Regions from separate parts of the Homo sapiens genome. Here regions 2 and 3 are each linked to region 1. The links are contacts of gene promoters, found by promoter capture Hi-C in blood cells and fetal thymus (Javierre and others, 2016). All regions are on one chromosome and are shown on one strand. Each heading gives the region's core, a stretch centred on a gene start or on the middle of the fragment in contact. The rest is flanking DNA. Distances are from core to core; before and after follow the strand shown.

What was found. The method cuts DNA at HindIII sites, captures the fragments that hold promoters and counts their contacts. A CHiCAGO score of 5 or more calls a contact.
Region 2: a fragment that was not itself captured here is called in contact with the fragment with the promoter of AK7 in region 1 in 1 of 17 cell types (fetal thymus); the score reaches 5.3 in fetal thymus.
Region 3: a fragment that was not itself captured here is called in contact with the fragment with the promoter of AK7 in region 1 in 1 of 17 cell types (total CD4 T cells); the score reaches 10.1 in total CD4 T cells.

The regions. Positions count from the first base shown.
Region 1 is chr14:96,390,769-96,393,700 of GRCh38, forward strand. AK7 (adenylate kinase 7) reads left to right here and starts at 1,360. Exons shown (of 18, transcript NM_152327.5): 1 at 1,360-1,491. The coding sequence starts at 1,387. RefSeq lists a silencer at 920-1,429. The HindIII fragment of the contact is 12,427 bases long and covers 1-2,932 here.
Region 2 is chr14:99,685,445-99,688,376 of GRCh38, forward strand. The region is part of intron 1 of CYP46A1 (cytochrome P450 family 46 subfamily A member 1); the gene reads left to right. Among named protein-coding and RNA genes, the nearest start is that of CYP46A1, 2.6 kb to the left of the region's middle. The HindIII fragment of the contact is 3,529 bases long and covers 1-2,932 here.
Region 3 is chr14:99,456,624-99,459,555 of GRCh38, forward strand. It overlaps SETD3 (SET domain containing 3, actin N3(tau)-histidine methyltransferase), which reads right to left. Exons shown (of 13, transcript NM_032233.3): 5 at 2,490-2,562; 6 at 1,656-1,912. Among named protein-coding and RNA genes, the nearest start is that of SETD3, 23 kb to the right of the region's middle. The HindIII fragment of the contact is 3,071 bases long and covers 31-2,932 here.

The DNA.
Region 1 (2,932 bases), core at 110-2,609:
GAGCGAGACTCCATCTCAAAAAAATAAATTAAAAATAAAAAGAACAAGAACGCTGGCGTGGTGGCTCATGCCTGTAATACCAGCACTTTGGGAGGACGAGGCAGGAGAGTTTCTTGAGCTCCGGAGTTAGAGACTAGCCTGGGCAACAAACATAGTGAGACCCTGTCTCTATTAAAAATAATAAAAAGAACGAGAAGAAACCACGCACACACAATTGCTGCAAGTGTTAAATATTTGCATTTAAGGAGTTAATGCTTAAGGCATGAAAACAGTTCAATATGATCAGGCTATTCCAAGGGAACTGCGTATTCTTAGTCCACCACAACCTTTATGGTCCAGTGATCACCGAGGTGAATGTTATCTTTTAATTTGTGGATTTATCTCAGCAACTGCATGTATAATCTCTTGTGGAACGGTCAAGTCTAAATTTCTTCCCTTGGTGAATGTGAGCGAATCCCGGGCGCCTACGGGCTCTGGTCGCCCCCAGCCGACACCAGGGGTCTTCCCGGAACGTGCGTCTGGAAACAACCCCCAAGGGAGCTGAGCCGGCGGACCAAGCCGCACCTGCCGCAAGGCGGGACCACGCTAGCGTCGCTCGGGTGTTCGGGAGCCCGAAACTCCATGGCAACAGCTTTTCTTCGCAGCTGAGGCTTACGTCCCGTCGCCCCGGCCAGACCACCCCATGGGAGCGTGCTGAGTAACTCCCACGTGTCGGGGAGAGGCCTAGGCTGTGGGCCATTCCCTCTTCTTCAGAATTCTCATTATTTTTAGTCATCGGGTCAAGCGGACACAGGGATGTGTTTCCAGACTTTCCGAACAATGGAGATTAAAAAGGCACAGCAATCACATGGCCCCCCGGGACAGACGCCCAGGGAGCTTCGGAAAGAAACCATGCACTGCCCAAGGGCTCCCAGTGGGCAGCAAGCCAGGGTGAGACCCGGGCTGCACGCGCGGCGCCGCGGAAAGCACTCGCAGGGACATCCGCCTGGCGCCCAGCAGCCGACAGCGCGCGCAGTTGCGAGCCCTGAGCCCCGCTTCGCCCGGCGCGCCCCGCCCAGCCCACTGCACTACACACCCCGCCCTGCCCGGCATGCCCCGCCCAACCCCCCGGCACGACTCGCCCCGCCCTACCCGGCACGCCCCGCCCAGCGACCGGCACAGCCTGCCCCGTCCCGCCTGGCACGCCCTGATTAGCGCCGGGCACGACACGCACCGCCCCGCCCGGCACTCCCTGCTTCGCCCACGACACGCCCCTCCCCGCCCGGCAAACTGCCCGGAGCCAAGGCCCCGCCCCCAGAGAGAACCTGCCCCGCCTCCCTGGCCCGGGCCCCGCCTCCTTGGCAAGCGAGTGGCGCTTTCACCTTAGCAACCAGCGCGGCTCCCACCATGGCTGAAGAAGAGGAAACTGCTGCTCTCACGGAGAAGGTTATCCGGACCCAGAGGGTGTTTATAAACCTGTTGGATTCCTACAGCAGCGGAAACATCGGGAAGGTGAGCGGCGGCGGCGGCCCAGAGCCTCACGCCAGCTCTCAGCTCCCAGCCCTCGGCCCCCGGTCCGCAAACCCAGCGAGGGTCTGCGCCCCAGGGCGCTGTCGGGGCCTTTCCTCAGGGAGGGTCCCGCGTCCTGGGCACCACCAATGCCCCCTGGACCCCAGTCCGCACCCAGGCTGGTCAAGAGATTCTACATGGAAGCTCAGGTGTCTGGAAATCACTGGTCCATCCCCTGTTCCTCCTTTTAATGAGGGGAAACTGAGGCTAAGAGGCAGGGACTTGCCCAAGATCACATAGAGAGTTGAGGCCAGAACCTGGACAGAGACTCCAGGTCTCTTGCCCCCTCCTAGGTTCTCTTTCTACCCTTCCATCGATTTTGAAGCAGGCAGCTAAACGAGAAAATAAATCAATTTTTTTTTTTTGAGACGGAGCCTTGCTCTGTCGCCCAGGCTGGAGTGCAGTGGCGCGATCTCGGCTCACTGCAAGCTCCGCCTCCCGGGTTCACGCCATTCTCCTGCCTCAGCCTCCGAGTAGCTGGGACTACAGGCGCCCGACACCGCGCCCGGCTAATTTTTTGTATTTTTAGCAGAGACGGGGTTTCACTGTGTTAGCCAGGATGGTCTCGATCGATCTCCTGACCTCGTGACCCACCCGTCTCGGCCTCCCAAATTACAGGCCGAGTAAATCCAAAAGGGATTACAGGCGTGAGTAAATCAAATTTTTATATTGCCCATGAAGCGTTTTTCATTCATCCATCCCTTCAATATATGGTTTTTGAGCATCTATTATGGACCAGACACTGTTTGGGTCCCCGAGTTCCATTAAGTTTCCTCACCTTTCTGTGTCTTTATCCCTGGAAAATGAAGATATTCAGAAAAAGGGCTCTGGGGCCCTTCATGCTAATATGATCAGTTGTCAAAAGAAAGCCATGATTTTATCATTCCCTGTGGGTAGGACCCGTCCATCTGAATTCTGTCCTCTAGAGCTACAGAGAAATCTAATCTCACCCTGGACAGACTTCTCTGAGGCTAATGACTGCACTTTCGAACAGGACAAATCTGCTTAAAATAGGATGAGGCTACAGTACGTACAATCTGTATTAGTTTTCTAGGGCTGTGGTAACCAATTGCCACAAACTGGATGACCTTATAAAACAGAAATTATTCTCTCGCAGTTCTTGAGGGCAGAAGTCCAAGATCAAGGTGTCAGCAGGGTTGGTTTCTACTGGAAGCTCCAGGGGAAGAACTGTTGCTTGCCCCTCTCCTAGCTTCTGGTAGTTGCCAATAATTCTTGGCACCCCTTGGCAGTAGACTCCAATCTCTGCCACCTTCTTCACATGGTGTTCTCTCCCCTGTGTCTCTGTGTCAAAACTTCCCTCTTCTCATAAGGACACCAGTTGTTGGATGAGGACTCACCCTATCCAATATGGCTTCATTTTAAC
Region 2 (2,932 bases), core at 189-2,688, 3.3 Mb after region 1:
TCAGGGGCCATCACCTCTGAGGTTACCTTCTTTCCACCTGTTGACTGTCTGTTCACCTGTTGACTGTCTCCCCCTCTAGAATGTGAGCCCCGGGAGGACAGGGACACTCTGTGTTCGCTTGTGTATCCCCAGTGCCTGGCGTGTTGCAGATCTCAATAAATATTTGTTGAATGAATGAATAAACAATTGTATTAGACACACTTTTTAAAATCTCAGGACATGAATATTCTGGAAGGCACCCATCTCCAGCACAAGCCAGATGTACTGGCGTTAGAAGCCTGAATCTCTGCTTGATGGGTTCAGGAAAGATCTCTGTGGCTGGTGACATAGGGAGGCACCTGTTCTCCCTGCTGGCTCTCTGCCCTTCTGGTGCTCTCTCTCTCTCTCCTTGCTTAGCTCCTCTGCCTTCTACTTTACCTGGATGCTTCTTCCCCCAGCCTTCCAGGTTTGGCTTCAATGCTAACTCCTCAGGGAGGTTCCTCCTGCTCCCCCAAAAATATTATGTTCATTTTATAAACCCTGAAATCACTGTAATTTTCCTTTACAGCATAATGTTAATTGGGCAATTATTTGTGCAAGTTTTTCCTAAGTGTCTCTTTTCCATGGGCCCCCTGTCTGTCTCAGTCACTGCTGCATCTCCGACATGTAGCAGCACATTGTACATGCATAGTAGACACTCTATGAATAGCAATTCAAGGTTGAATGGTGGAAATCTCCCGTGAGTTCCGTGGTGGACACTATCACCCTCTCAAGTTTTCAGAGAAGCCATCAGCACTTAGAATTGAATGAGTTTGGTGCTTGTTCTGATAAGTTTCATCGTTACTTGGTCTTCTCATAAACTCAAATGACCTGTTCTGGTCTCTGTGTCTTGAGAAAGCAGAATTTAAATCATCTTAAAAAAAATTGAAATGTAACTTGCATTCCACAAAATGTATTCTTTAGTGTATGATTCAGTGGTTTTTGGTACATTCACAGCACTGTGCAGCCATCGCCACCGATTTCAGAACTGTTTTGTCACCCCAGAAAGAAACCCCGTACCCATTAGCCATCACTCCTCATTTTCTCCCACCCCTCACAGCCCTGGCAACCATGAATCTGCTTTCTGTCTCTGTGGATTTGCCTGTTCTGGACATTTCATATAAATGGAATCATACAATATGTGGCCTTTTGTGTCTGGCTTCTTTCACTTAGTATAATGTTTCAAAAGTTCATTCATGTAGTAGCATGTATCCTTATTGCTTTCCTTCTTATGGCTAAATTCTTCCCAAATCTTATACCACAGAGTCTACATGTGACCTGAGTGTGTGGGGTGCGGAGGGAGCAGTGGGAGGAAGATGAATATAATCATGATTGGGCTATTTATTCTAAGGAGGTGAACTGAACAATGCATATATAAAAAGATTTTGGATTAAAAATTGGTTAGTGGTCAAATATAAAACTGCACTAAATGAAAGTTCTGGAAACTCTTCTAGCAGAAACCCGATGCCTTGACATTAAAAGCCTGGATCTTTAAACTATGATTGGCGATACTGTGGTTGACGAGAGATCTGTGTGTTGAGTCTCCAGTAGTAGCATTTGCCCCCGGGTACCCCAGGGCTTTGCCAGCTGGCAGGCAAGGAACCCTCTCGCTGCAAGAGGCAACTCTTCATCTTCCTCATTCTACAGGAGGCCCTCCCTCAGTGCCCCTCCTCTGTGCTTTTCTTACCACATCCTACTGCACCGATCCGTGTAACAGCTGAAAACTCAGACCCCCACACTCAGATCCCACACAAACACCTGTAGCTTCTTTATTTCTCTGTCACTGTTCTAACTTCCCTCATCAGCCCCTACTCTCCTGGTAATGTGGGAGTGGATGTAAACTTGACAATGAAAGGTCTTTCTCTCCCAATTTTTATTTATTTGGGGATAAATTGACTCCTCCTGGACAGTTCTGGTTCCACTCCGATTTGCCCAGTTGCTGGGGTGGGGCTGTTCAGCAAGGAGCAGGGTGGCCAGCCATGGGGGAGCCCCACAGCTGGCTCTGGCGGGTGGTGCATCTGATGAGCTTTGGGTGCCCAGCTGAGCACTCGCCACCCTGCCCCTCTGGCATGAGCCACAATCATGGTCCCTCACCCTCACGCCTACCCCTAGTGGGTAGCCCGCTCCTCCACTACTGGAGCATTCCCTTCATCCCTCTGGGTGACTTCACTGTGGGCTCTCCAGATGGCCTCTCCTCGTTCACTGGCCAAGGTTTTCTCTGCCCACAGGAGAGCTTGGGTCCCCACTCAGCCAATCATGATGTTGCAGGAAACTGGATGTGCTGGAGAGGTGTGGGGTGGTGGGCGGTGGGGGATTGCCTCTCCTCTCTCCCAGGGCTGCTCTGCTGTGTCCAGTCTATCACCAGGGACATGCCAAGTGGGCTTCTGCCTGCCGGGGCGCTGAGCAACAAGTCCCCATGTCTGGCCATGGTGTTAGCCTTACCTGCTTGTTTTTAACACCTGGGTCTTCCTGTTCTGTTGTCGCCTCCCCAGCGCCCCCTGCAGGTGCCAGAAGGAATGGGTTTTTTTTCCCCTTTCTTGGTGGGCCATGAGGACCCCACCCCTCTCTGTGCCCTCTGTCTTCCTGAGATGGCACTCACCTTCCTTCCCATGTGGCAGGGAACCCCAGGGGTTAGGGTGGAAGCTCTGGGCTCAGACTCTGTCCTCACTTAAGTGACTCAAAACTGAGAACATTCCCCCAGAATGTGAGCTTTGGGAAGCGACAATGAGGACACTAGATTACTCTGGAAATACATCCAGGCATGTGTGATGATCACAGCCCATCTTCCTGCAAGTTCAAGGCCACTCACCTGGCGTGGGCCTCCACTGCGGGCAGGCGGCCACCCCGTACTTCCTTCCCCAGGGCGTTTATTCGCCTACTCTCCCTTCCTGCTTCAGTCCCCATCACCTCCCCC
Region 3 (2,932 bases), core at 316-2,815, 3.1 Mb after region 1:
TCCCCGTAGCATCTCAGCATCATCTAAGGAAGCTTATTTCAGGGGGTTATGAAGACACCTGGCTCTTAAACAAATTGACAAAAAATGGTTCCATCTATATGAACAGAGTATTTTAGTGACTCACAGCCATTGAAAAACTCATCAAATTTTGAAGCAAAGCTGCACTACTTAGTTAATACTGAAGTAAATGGACCAGTTAATACAAAGAAACAGCCAAAGCTCATTCACGCCAAGTCGGTTATCAGAAGACCTGCCATCATCCTAGACCCTCCAACCTGCCAACAGAAGAGAGTCCTCTCAGAGCAGGCTACCAGCGTTTGCAAACTAGAAGCACATTAGTAAAAAGGGCCAGCTTGTAGTTCATTGTCCAGCAAGAGAAAATGACAAATACTTAGACCTACTAAAGTCAGCTTAACCTTTAGTCATGAAAGATATACCATTGAGAACTAAGAATAAAAGTATAACCCTTCCAGGTCATGAAGAGCCAAACCAACCTTAGACTGCAGGACTGCAGGTGCACACTATATGAAGAAGCAAAGTTTTGATTTGGCTTCATCAATAGTTTTTAAATTAAGCCAACTTGAAATAAAAGCTATATACATACTGTATGACCATTCCTAATGACTTCCTAAAGTTTAGAAAAACCGAGTGATTGATTTCCACATGAAGACAACAGTCATGTATAATTTTTGACATATTTGAAGTGCTTGCTGGAGGAGGAGATGTAACTGAGTGTAACATTCTTGTGTAGTAAGCATGCTACAAAGTGAAAATAATAAACGGAAAGCAATATCACCTGTAGCAATGAAATGAGGTTACCACTTCTTGCAAATAAAACATAGCAAGGATAGACCATTTAAGGAACAACCAAATCAAACCTAATTCAGGTTGTCACACCAACCAAAGACAAGGAAAGCGAGCAAGTAGTTCACCTGCCCACTTGTCGTATCTCAAGAACAGCAGCCCAGGAGCTGACTCTTGAGTGATTCAGATTGTGCAGAATCAGGAGAAGGAGCCACACTGCCTCTCAGTCCTGGTGGGGACTGTGGTACTGGCCCTGTTCCTTCTGACTGCTGTTCAACTGCAAATGAAAGATAACGGTGGCCACACCACCAAAATACAGAAAGGTGTCATCACAGGTAATTCAAATACTTGGAGCCTTATAGAGATTTCTATGAGAAACTTTCACTGAGAACAAATTAAAATTAATACACAGTACACGTTGAAAAACATAAATGTTATAATTTGCTAAATTAACTGTCAATATTTTACACTAACATATATAGAAAAAAATTAACCCTCATTTTCTTGAAAAATTTATACACAGAGTAACTTATTGCATTAGATATGCTTTAAGGCTTTTAAAATTTCATTGTGATCTTTTGTTTACAAAAAAACTTGGTGATTTCAATAACTCAGGAACAACTGCTGCTTGTATTAACACTGGGCACTGATGAAATCAGATATATATATGTAACCGCATTTCATTGATATTTCTGTAAAAACAAACGATGAAATGTATTTTATATTTTCAATTTAAAAAGTAAAATGTTTAAGTATCCTTAATAAGACATCAAATGGAATATTTATGGACTCAATTCCTCTTTCCTCCCCACTCTGTGAAATATATACTTAAATTGCAAACAGCTGCTCACCTGGATGACTTTATAGAAGTAGGCGTACTGTCGAGCTGTGTTTTTATACTGGCTGAAGACATCATGTATAGCTTGTGTGGACTGAAGATACCGAACTTCATCTTCTTCAAAGTAGAGAGGAGTGTCATATTCACTGGGGAGGGTTTGAATATAGGGCTGCCAGAAGGAGTTAGGGCTGGCTCGCTCACACAGCAAATGAAAGGCCAGTGCGATGTTTCCCATGGCTTGAAGGATTCGGTCTTGAGAATATAAGGGCCCTGAATTAACCCAGAAGTTAACAGCGTAAGTTCCACAAACTTCTTAAAAACTTCATTTAAATATACGTTTACAAATTACAGAAAAACTAAAAGGTCTTGTAACATTTAAAGTCAGGTACAGGCTGGGCGCAGTGGCTCACACCTGTAATCCTAGCACTTTGGGAGGTCAAGGTGGGAGGATTGCTTGAGCTCAGGACTTTGAGACCAGCCTGGGCAATATAGCAAAACCCCATCACTACAAAAAAAAAAAAAAAAAAAAAATTAGCCAGATGTAGTGGTGCACACCTGTGGGAGAATCATTTGAGCCTGGGAGATCAAGGCTGTAGTGAGCTATGATGGTGCCAGTGTACTCCAGCCTAGGTGACAAAGCGAGACCCTATCTCAAAAATAATAATAATAATAAATAAAGGTCATGTGCATCTTTTTTATAACATTAAATGAAAAACACTTAATGCATATTTGAGGGAATATTTCGCCAGTCGAGAAAAACCAAGTATTATCCTTAGTGCCATAAAATGGAATTTTACATATTTTTGTCATTTGTGCTTTGCCTTGAAGAGTCAGAAATTATTCTCACCCAACACTGAATTTTTAGCAGATTCAACAGTCATTAGCAATTTTCGTGGAACCCATAAAAACAATTCTTCTGCCTAGGGAAAAAAATAATAATAGGAGAATCATCAAAACACGGTACAGTCTTCAATCCAACCATATCTACGGTCAGAAATCCAATCACACATGAAGTACAACTTAAGGCTGCATATCAGCACTTCAAATAAATATTCAAATACATTTTAAAATGTAAGCATTTATCTTATAGTTAAATGAGTAGAAGTATAGCTTAAAATCCTGTTTCCAACAGAAAAACTAAAAACTACATATGCTGAGAAGCAAATAATCAAAAAAGGGACTTTCAACTTTAACCTGAAGCAAATATAACATTTGGAGTAGAGCATAAAGGCGTTTACTGTATACTTTACTGTACTTTTAAGTTCTAAAACCAGACCAAATCAAAACAAA